Regions from separate parts of the Homo sapiens genome. Here all the other regions are linked to region 1. Evidence: promoter capture Hi-C in 16 types of primary human blood cells and fetal thymus (Javierre and others, 2016). All regions are on one chromosome and are shown on one strand. Each heading gives the region's core, a stretch centred on a gene start or on the middle of the fragment in contact. The rest is flanking DNA. Distances are from core to core; before and after follow the strand shown. Region 1 holds the start of DST (dystonin). Region 2 has its middle 4.7 kb from the start of RAB23. Region 3 has its middle 17 kb from the start of LINC03001.

Region 1 (2,700 bases), core at 5-2,504:
ACAACAGCTCCACTACACAAGAAATTTGCTAAAACCGTTCGCTGGGCACTAATATGAAATCACTTAAAAGGAAACATGCCACTTTCGGCTAGGGGACAGCATGTTCGTCATTCAGTGTCCTACTGGTTTCTTAACACGCATATAATTAATATTGGTACTCAGGAAAGAGAACTTCTTCTGACCTTGAGCGTGCGCGCTAAATAAATTACCTCAGAACGAAAGTGGTGCGATCTCAAAACAGCATCTGGGGAGAAAAGAGATAAATGAGACTTCATTTAACTCCTTGTTCTTCACCTACCGAGTGACTCATGACTTACCTGGGAGACCAGGGTTGGGAAAGCACATCGCAGACTCCTGGAATTCGGTGGGACATCCTGGGGGAGGGAGGAGGAGTCCTGGGGCCATCGGTCTCTACGTGATTTCTCCGCGAGAAGTTTGCATGAAAGTTCTGGGGGAGTTGGGGAGCCCCGAAGTTTCCATGCCTTACTTTCTTACCCCTACGCTCCAGCGAAGGATGCGTGAAGGCGAGGCTGGCGCAGCCCCGGACTACGCTCAAATTACCCTTAAGGCTTTAGCAAACTGACTAAAAATTTGAGTTCTTTCCTCCCCTCCCTGCCCTCGGCATCGCCGTGGTTATTCAAACCTGGGAGACTGGAGGGCGGAGGTGACGGCAAAAAGGGCAAGGGGCGTTAAAGAAACGCACTCAGCCTGGGGAGTGGGCAATGATGGGGCTAGGGGCAGCCGAGGAGAAGGGAGCGAGCCGCGCTTCACTCTCCAAATCGGCTTAATTGTTCCTGGTAGCCCGCAGAAACCCGTCGCGGCGTGTCTTACCTCGGCTTCTTGAACGACCCGAGAAGACCGATTTCATCGGATGCCTCCCTTTCTGGAGCTTGCGGTGCCAGCAGCAGAAGAAGACGATGGTGGCGATGGTGCCCAGCAGAAGCAACAAGAGGAAGAGGGCACATTGGATGCTGTAGGGTCTCAGCAAGACGAGGAAAGCCGCGGCGATCATGGTGCGGGCGAGGCGAGGGCGACTCGACGGCGGGGCTGGAGGGCGGCGGCACAGGCACCCGCGCTGGGCGCACGCCGGGACGGCGGGCACGGGTGAGCGCGGCTCAGCGCGTCATGCCTGGCGCTCGCGGCCCCGCGCCCAGCCCAATGGCTGCGCACCCCGCGCCAGCCGCGCTACGCGAGTGATCCAGGGCTGCGGGGAGCGCTTGCCATGACTCAGCAGACAGCGACGAGGCTGCGACTCGGCGGCTGGGATCCTCTCCCCTCCCTCCCCAGGCGCCCCCGCCCCCGTCCGTGCGCAGCCCCCGGGCGCAGCCCCGCCGGGGACGCGGCGAGTGGGGAGGAGCAGCGCCGCCGCCGCGGCCGCCCGGGCCCCGCGCATCGTCCTGCGGCCGCCGCCGACCTCAGCATCCCAGAAGCCGGGCGCACGTGGGTCGGGGCGGGGACGCGGCGCTCAGGCTGCAGCCGCGGCAGCCTGCGGGGGGCGGGAATGGGGCGCCGCGGCGGGGGCTCGGCTGATGACATCACGGCCAGGCTGCGGCAGCGCGGGCGCGCGGACATGGCTGCGGCGGTTTCGGCGGCGTCCGCGGGCTGCACCCGGGCCTGAGAGCCCAGCGCCCTCCCGCGGGGCCGCCCGCCAGTCCGCGCCGTCCGCGGGTGCATTGGCCGGGTGCCTCTAGCTTCCCGGACACCCGGAGCTTCCGCCTATCCAGCCTCCCTCGGCCAAATTGCTGCGGAGCCCGTCGTCAGGGGGCGCCAAGGAGCCAGGGGGAAAACCGAGAGGCGCTGACAGGAGCCTCCCGGCGGTGCTACCCTCCACCTCCCACCTCCCTGCGCCCCGCCCCGAGGTTGGGGCTTTGAAGAATGCAGCCGGGTGAGCTATTGCTTGTGGGGGTTTCCTCGCACTCTGAAGCGCGAGCGCCGGGAAGGGCCTTCCCTGGGAATTGGGATACTCCAGGAACGGGAGGCCCACTCCTCTCCAAGCCTCTCTAAACTAGGAGCGCTCCGGGGTAGTACGCTCTGGTCGGCAGAGGTGAACTCTTCCACCCCAAACTTGGTGCTTATCTCGCAGCTAAGAATTGGGCACTTTCGATCTTCTTGTATCCCTGGGTTTGCCCTAAAACCCTGACTCATTTAGTGCATTTGAAGGGCAAGGCGATTTCAGATTTAGGGACCTGGCAGATGAAGTAAGTTGGTACTTGGCTTATAAACATTTGGGGGAGAAATTTTTTAGGGAGTGTGAGGCAATAGTGATCTCTCACACTTGCAGGCACACTCTGTCTCCCCTTTGTCCCCTCCCCACGTTTCTTCATAACCAGCAAAAAGTATATGGCAGTTGGTGGCCAGGGGATTTAACACTGATGCAATGCCAGCACGGAAGGTATAGCGAGAGCGCTGCAGTGTGCCTTTCTGCGGACGGCCACGGCCACCTGGCCAGGAAGCGGCTGCTGCAGCAGTCATTCTGCGGCATCTTGCGGCCTTGGCGGGCGGTGCTGTGCCGCGTTCTGCTGCCCCCAAGGCAATGCTGGCTTTCCCTGTGTGGGGCTGGATTGTTTGTTTCATTTACTCGCATAAGAAAACTTTAATTATAGTGACAAGGTAACACTTGACTGCATTTGCGGAGTTTCTTATAACAACTGTATTAGCCTCTTTTTTGGAATATTTAATAGACTGAAGAAATTGTGTCAT
Region 2 (2,799 bases), core at 183-2,682, 270 kb after region 1:
TTAGTTATTAAGTCATTAAATGATTGTTTGAATCTAGTACCTCCACTGATCCAGCAAAAAATGTCCATTTGTTCCCTTGCTCGTTCTTTCATTGTGTCTGACTCTAATGAACTGAACAGTGTCCAAGGATCATGAATTGTAGCTGAGTAGAAAGAAAAACAGAAAAATCAGAAAATATTTTCTTCCAAGAAAGAAAGCTTTGAAAATTTTACCACTTAGAATATAAGTCTGCATATACATATGAATGCATATGTGGCCATCTGGAAAAAACTAGTAGAAATCACAGTATTTGGCTAGACAATAATAATCTACTGTTCTTCAGATTCAAACAGATCATGCTGGAAAAAAAATTTTTTCTAGTACTTTCTAGGCAGACATTAGAGTACTGATTCAGTTTTTCTGTTGCTTAATAACCTTGGATCTTAGTATCCTCATCTATAGTAAGGAGTTACCCACCTTACAAGGTCATTTATCCATTAAAAAAAATACATATTGTGCCAAGGACTGTGCTGAACATTGGGTATTCAGTAATAGACAAAAGGCAGATGGTTTGTGTCCTCTGGGAGCTTATAATGTGTTAAGGGAGACCAAAAAAGAAAGTATACAAATACACACATATGCACACATATACACAAATAAGTGATTACATACCCTTAGACATTATGTGAAAGTAAATAACTGGTATGATGGAAGCATGTAAGAGGGAGCCCTAATTTATGTTGGAGAACCAAGGGAAGGCCTTTCTGATACAGTGATTTTTAAGCTGTTATCTGAAAGATAAATGAGTTTGGTGAAGAATAGACAGAAAAAGCCTTTAAGCAGAGACAGCAGGAAGTACGATGGCCTGAGGCAGCAAACAATTCACTGGGTTTGAATAATTGAAAGGGAGCCAGTGTGCAGGAGTGAGGTGGAAAGCGGTATGTAAAAAATAAAGAACAGTGGTGAGGGAAGCAGGGGCCAGATCATGAAGACCTTGCAGGTCATATTAGGTAATTTGGATTATATCTCAAGTATATTGGGAAGCCATTGGAGGATTTTTTAGTGCACAGACTAGGAGATCCACTGGACAGTTTTAAAAAATTCCTCTGACTGCTATCTAGGGAAAACATAGAGTAGTGGAAAATGGGAGAGCAATGGAAGGCCGGTTCAGGCAAGAGATGATGGAGGGTTAGACTGAGATGGTTACAGGGGTGATACAGAAAAGTGCATTTGTTTTTAATCTTGGAAGTAGAACCTATAGGATTTGGCTATGGTGTAGGAAAAAGACGGAATGTAAAGAGTGACTTGCAGGTTTCTTGAATGACTGCCTTGCTGAGATTGGTCACTAAGGGACTAGTTATAACCCCTCACAGTGTGAGTCGGGGAATAATCTGTTCATTCTAAATTCCTTTTTGTTTTGTCCTTGATTGTTCTTGTATTATGGTCTAGTGTGTTCCAGCATATACACTTCTAGATTTAGGGCCCTTACTAACAAAGAATAATTAGAAAATAAAAATCTTTTTTTTTTCTTTACTGCCCAAGTCTTTCTCATATATATATTTACTTTTGTTGAAATACTCTTAGTATACTGAGAGACCTCCTCTCTAATGGAAAGGGCTGGACTAGACAACTCTCTGACTTTTGAGAACTTCGCTCATGGTAAATAAGGAAACGTCTGTGTGATATTCTTCCTCACACTTCTGTTGGAACATTTGTTCACCTCGCTTCAGTGATCTGATGCATTTTCAAGAGCTTATTCACAATCAAGTTTTTGTCATCCATTCCATAATTTAAATTCTTCTCAGTAGGCTGGGCACAGTGGCTCACGCCTGTAATCCCAGCACTTTGGGAGGCCAAGGCAGGAGGATCACCTGAGGTCAGGAGTTCAAGACCAGCCTGGCCAACATGGTGAAACCCCATCTCTACTAAAAATACAAAAATTAGCTGGGCGTTGTGGCGCACGCCTGTAATCTCAGCTACTCAGGAGGCTGAGACATGAGAATTGCTTGAACCCGGGAGATGGAGGTTGCAGTGAGCCAAGATCATGCCACTGAACTCCAGCCTCAGCCACAGGGTGAGACCATCTCAAAAAAAAAAAAAAAAAAAAAGAATAAATAAATTCTTTTCTCAGTGCTCTCATAAAATAAGTAGAAGGACTATTTGATTAACCTTATTTGTACATATAAATAAAGTAGGTAAAGGTCACATACCCTACAGGTAGTTTTGATACAAGAATCCAATTCTCTTAATGGGCAGTTATGAATTCAAACTCATCCACTTGCCCATTCCCTGGATTTACAATTATTAAGTCACAAAAAAGTGGTGAGGAAATGTTCTACTTGTGCTAATACTTGTGCATCAAATACTTGATGCTCATGACAGAATATTTTTACCTCTTAAATATAATCTTTTCAACATTAATCAGTAATTGAGGTTTTGTGCTTAAAGTTATTTTGCAACCAGGACTAATTCTTAATTTTTTAACCACTTCTACTCAACAAATATATAAAACACTTTAAATATTGATGCATCTCCTGGTTTTTGGTTTTTATTTCTTGATATCTTATAGAAGATCTACAAAACTAGAGTTAGAAGCCAGAAAGAAGCCTCAGATGGTGATAAATAAAAATGTTCTGTCTTAATGCTGATTTTTTCAGTAATGAAGTGGTATAAACTCATTACTTTCATGAAGCTTCCTAGGTCATGAAAATAACATTGTTGTAGAGCTTCCATGTGCATCAGGTATGACTGAATAGTTTGATGCACTTGCAAATCACAAAGTGCCTTCCTTTGAAATGTGTAAGGCAGGTTGAGATGCAG
Region 3 (2,700 bases), core at 177-2,676, 290 kb after region 1:
ATGAAGCTCATACACCCATGATGCATCACCTGCCTACCTCTTACATGCTTTATGGGTTAGTTATATTTGCCATCACTGGAGGTGCCAGTAAACTCGCAAGGTAGCCTTTGTGTGAGGTTTGGTAACCAAATTGCCAAGTTAGCTCAGGGAACTGCAACTCATGTCCACCTTTCATCCACTTAGGCCTTGCTGTCTTCCCTCTTTCAGGTTTCAGTTTTGTAGATTTTGAGCCTAGATTCTCTTTCTCCATCTCTTAGAGCACAACCTAAGATAGCATTTTGATAGTCTAAGCTCCTGGTCTGGTGTAACTGCTTCCACTCAGAAATACTTCCTCTTCTCTGGAAAGGAAGGGATCAAACAATAGCTCAGTAAGAACATAATTATCAGATCAGGAGTGCCTGCAGATGTAAAGGTTCTGATGCCAGAATATGGAGGTGGAGGGAGTGGTCTTGGGATAGTGCAGGGGATGGGGTTTGGGGCATGAGAGTGCACTTGGATTACCTGATTATAAATGGCAGCACAATGAATTTTTAATATAAAGTTACAGCTTTAAAATTATTGAGAAAGATTAGTTGATTGGTGTCACTCTAGTCATAGAAAACATACAAATCTAATTCTGATTTTGTGCCAACAGACTATTATTTTTGTGCTTGCACACTTATTGTATCACATGCATCTCTATCCATCCATTTATCCACATATCTACAAATCATATATCTCAACACTGTAAAAAACTCCAGTTCCTTATAAATTACTATTTTATTTTCTCTTATTCTAAGCTTCCTTCCTGTAACTTATTTAATTGTTAACAAAATGTGTTATAGAAACCTGTGTTACTTGTTCTGCAGCCCATTTACGGGGGAGAAGATATTATGTTTCCTTGGTCTATGTTTCAAAGGTATCAACTCTCTTTGTTCCTGTATAACTACTTACATTTGAAGTGAAAAACTCCCAGAGGCCAACAGAAAATGGCTATGAAACTAGAAAGAATACTATTCTACCTACGCTAGTATATAAGTTTCCTAAGATGTTAGTGAAATACAGCTGGAGAAGTGCTTCAGTTTGGCTCAGTTTTGTTTTGGCCCAACTCTTACCAATAGCTCCTCTCCAATCTCCAGGAGATACGCCGTCCTATCGGTGATGGGGGAGGAGCAGGAGTGAAAGACAGGATGGTGTTGCAACAATTCAAAACCCCAGAGCGCACAGTTACCCCCAATGCACTAATCAGGGTGTAGGTACTATAACTTACTAAGCCTGTTTAATAAATCCATGCCTGTACTCAGGTGAATGGGGAATGGTGAGAGAAGAGAGAACACTGTGATAACCAACCAGCTCGAACAGGGAGGGGCAGCCAGCCCACCGTTGCAAGGAGAGCTGGGCAGATGTCTATCAAGATAACCATTTCTGCTGCCTGCTGATTCTCTCACCTGCCAGTTTCTGCATCTGCCCATAGAGTACTCATGTGCTCCTTCCTGTACCAGATGATCTCCCTGGACTTAATTTCTTTTTTTTTTTTTTTGAGACGGAGTCTCACTCTGTCGCCCAGGCTAGAGTGCGGTGGCGCGATCTCAGCTCACTGCAAGCTCCGCCTCCTGGGTTCACGCTATTCTCCTGCCTCAGCCTCCCGAGTAGCTGGGACTACAGGTACCCACCACCATGCCCGGCTAATTTTTTGTATTTTTAGTAGAGACGGGGTTTCACCGTGTTAGCCAGGATGGTCTTGATCTCCTGACCTCGTGATCCGCCCGCCTTGGCCTTCCAAAGTGCTAGGATTACAGGCGTGAGCCACACCGCGCCCGGCCTGGACTTGATTTCTTGATTGCCTGCACCTAGAGTATCCATCGTCTTTCCTACGTGGCTGGGCAACTAGGTTTATCCCTTTCAGGCTAGCCCTCCTTCATTGCCATAACATCTAGGGGTGACATTGACTGAGTTGTATATGATTATTCATCATTTCTCGGGCCTAGATAGATTGTGATGAGTTTTAGGGCTTGTCAAATTTCAAGGCTCTGTTTTTATACCACACATAATTTTGGGAATTTGTAAAGTGCTTAATAATTATCCATCAATGAGTAAGCTTTGAAGGAAGATTAAAAAGTATTATGAAATAAATTACAGAGTTATAGTTGAGGCTTATTCAGAGCAAAATTATTTTTGGTGTATTTTGAGCACTAGGTAAATGTCAAAGGCACCCATGAGAAATAGCAAAAACTGCTGTAATAGTATAAATTCTCATTTATAGCTGCTGCAGAAGAGATGCAAATGTTCTCTATGTGGTTGCTCTGTGTGAGGAGGTGTTTCATGGGACTATCAAAATCCTATCTTAGGTTGTCATTTTGGACACTAAAAATTTTCAAGTAATAATTTAAAGAATCTTGAGGTTTCCTTTTGATATGGCCTAGAAACCTTTGGCAACTAATTTCTGTATGACTCAAAGGATTTCCCCTAGAAGGGAATCCTACTATTTGGGCTTTTAAAAATAAACTGTCATTCTGGATACATTTGTAGCCCTGACTAGTGGGTGAGCATGAGTTTCATTCTGAAATCCAGAAAGAATAATGAGACTAAAAAAAATCAAGACACTGAGTACAGTATATTAGTTAATATAGCATATAATTCAATGTTTGCTTTAGAATTTTGAATTTAGCCAAAAAATAATTGGATCAGGTACTAATGATCAAAATGAGATCACGTGAGGAA

Evidence for each region. Contacts are between HindIII fragments. The CHiCAGO score rates a contact against its expected background, and 5 or more counts as called.
Region 2: a fragment that was not itself captured here is called in contact with the fragment with the promoter of DST in region 1 in 7 of 17 cell types (erythroblasts, megakaryocytes, endothelial precursors and 4 more); the score reaches 7.6 in erythroblasts.
Region 3: a fragment that was not itself captured here is called in contact with the fragment with the promoter of DST in region 1 in 12 of 17 cell types (megakaryocytes, erythroblasts, total CD4 T cells and 9 more); the score reaches 9.9 in megakaryocytes.

Annotation. Positions count from the first base shown.
Region 1 is chr6:56,953,576-56,956,275 of GRCh38, forward strand. DST (dystonin) reads right to left here and starts at 1,255. Exons shown (of 104, transcript NM_001374736.1): 1 at 832-1,255; 2 at 210-244. The coding sequence starts at 1,012. BEND6 (BEN domain containing 6) reads left to right here and starts at 1,532. Exons shown (of 7, transcript NM_152731.3): 1 at 1,532-1,885. RefSeq lists an enhancer at 238-869 and a silencer at 1,031-1,720. The HindIII fragment of the contact is 5,182 bases long and covers 1-2,700 here.
Region 2 is chr6:57,225,576-57,228,374 of GRCh38, forward strand. It overlaps a transcript of PRIM2 not described here. Among named protein-coding and RNA genes, the nearest start is that of RAB23, 4.7 kb to the left of the region's middle. The HindIII fragment of the contact is 2,474 bases long and covers 196-2,669 here.
Region 3 is chr6:57,245,354-57,248,053 of GRCh38, forward strand. It overlaps a transcript of PRIM2 not described here. Among named protein-coding and RNA genes, the nearest start is that of LINC03001, 17 kb to the right of the region's middle. The HindIII fragment of the contact is 1,298 bases long and covers 778-2,075 here.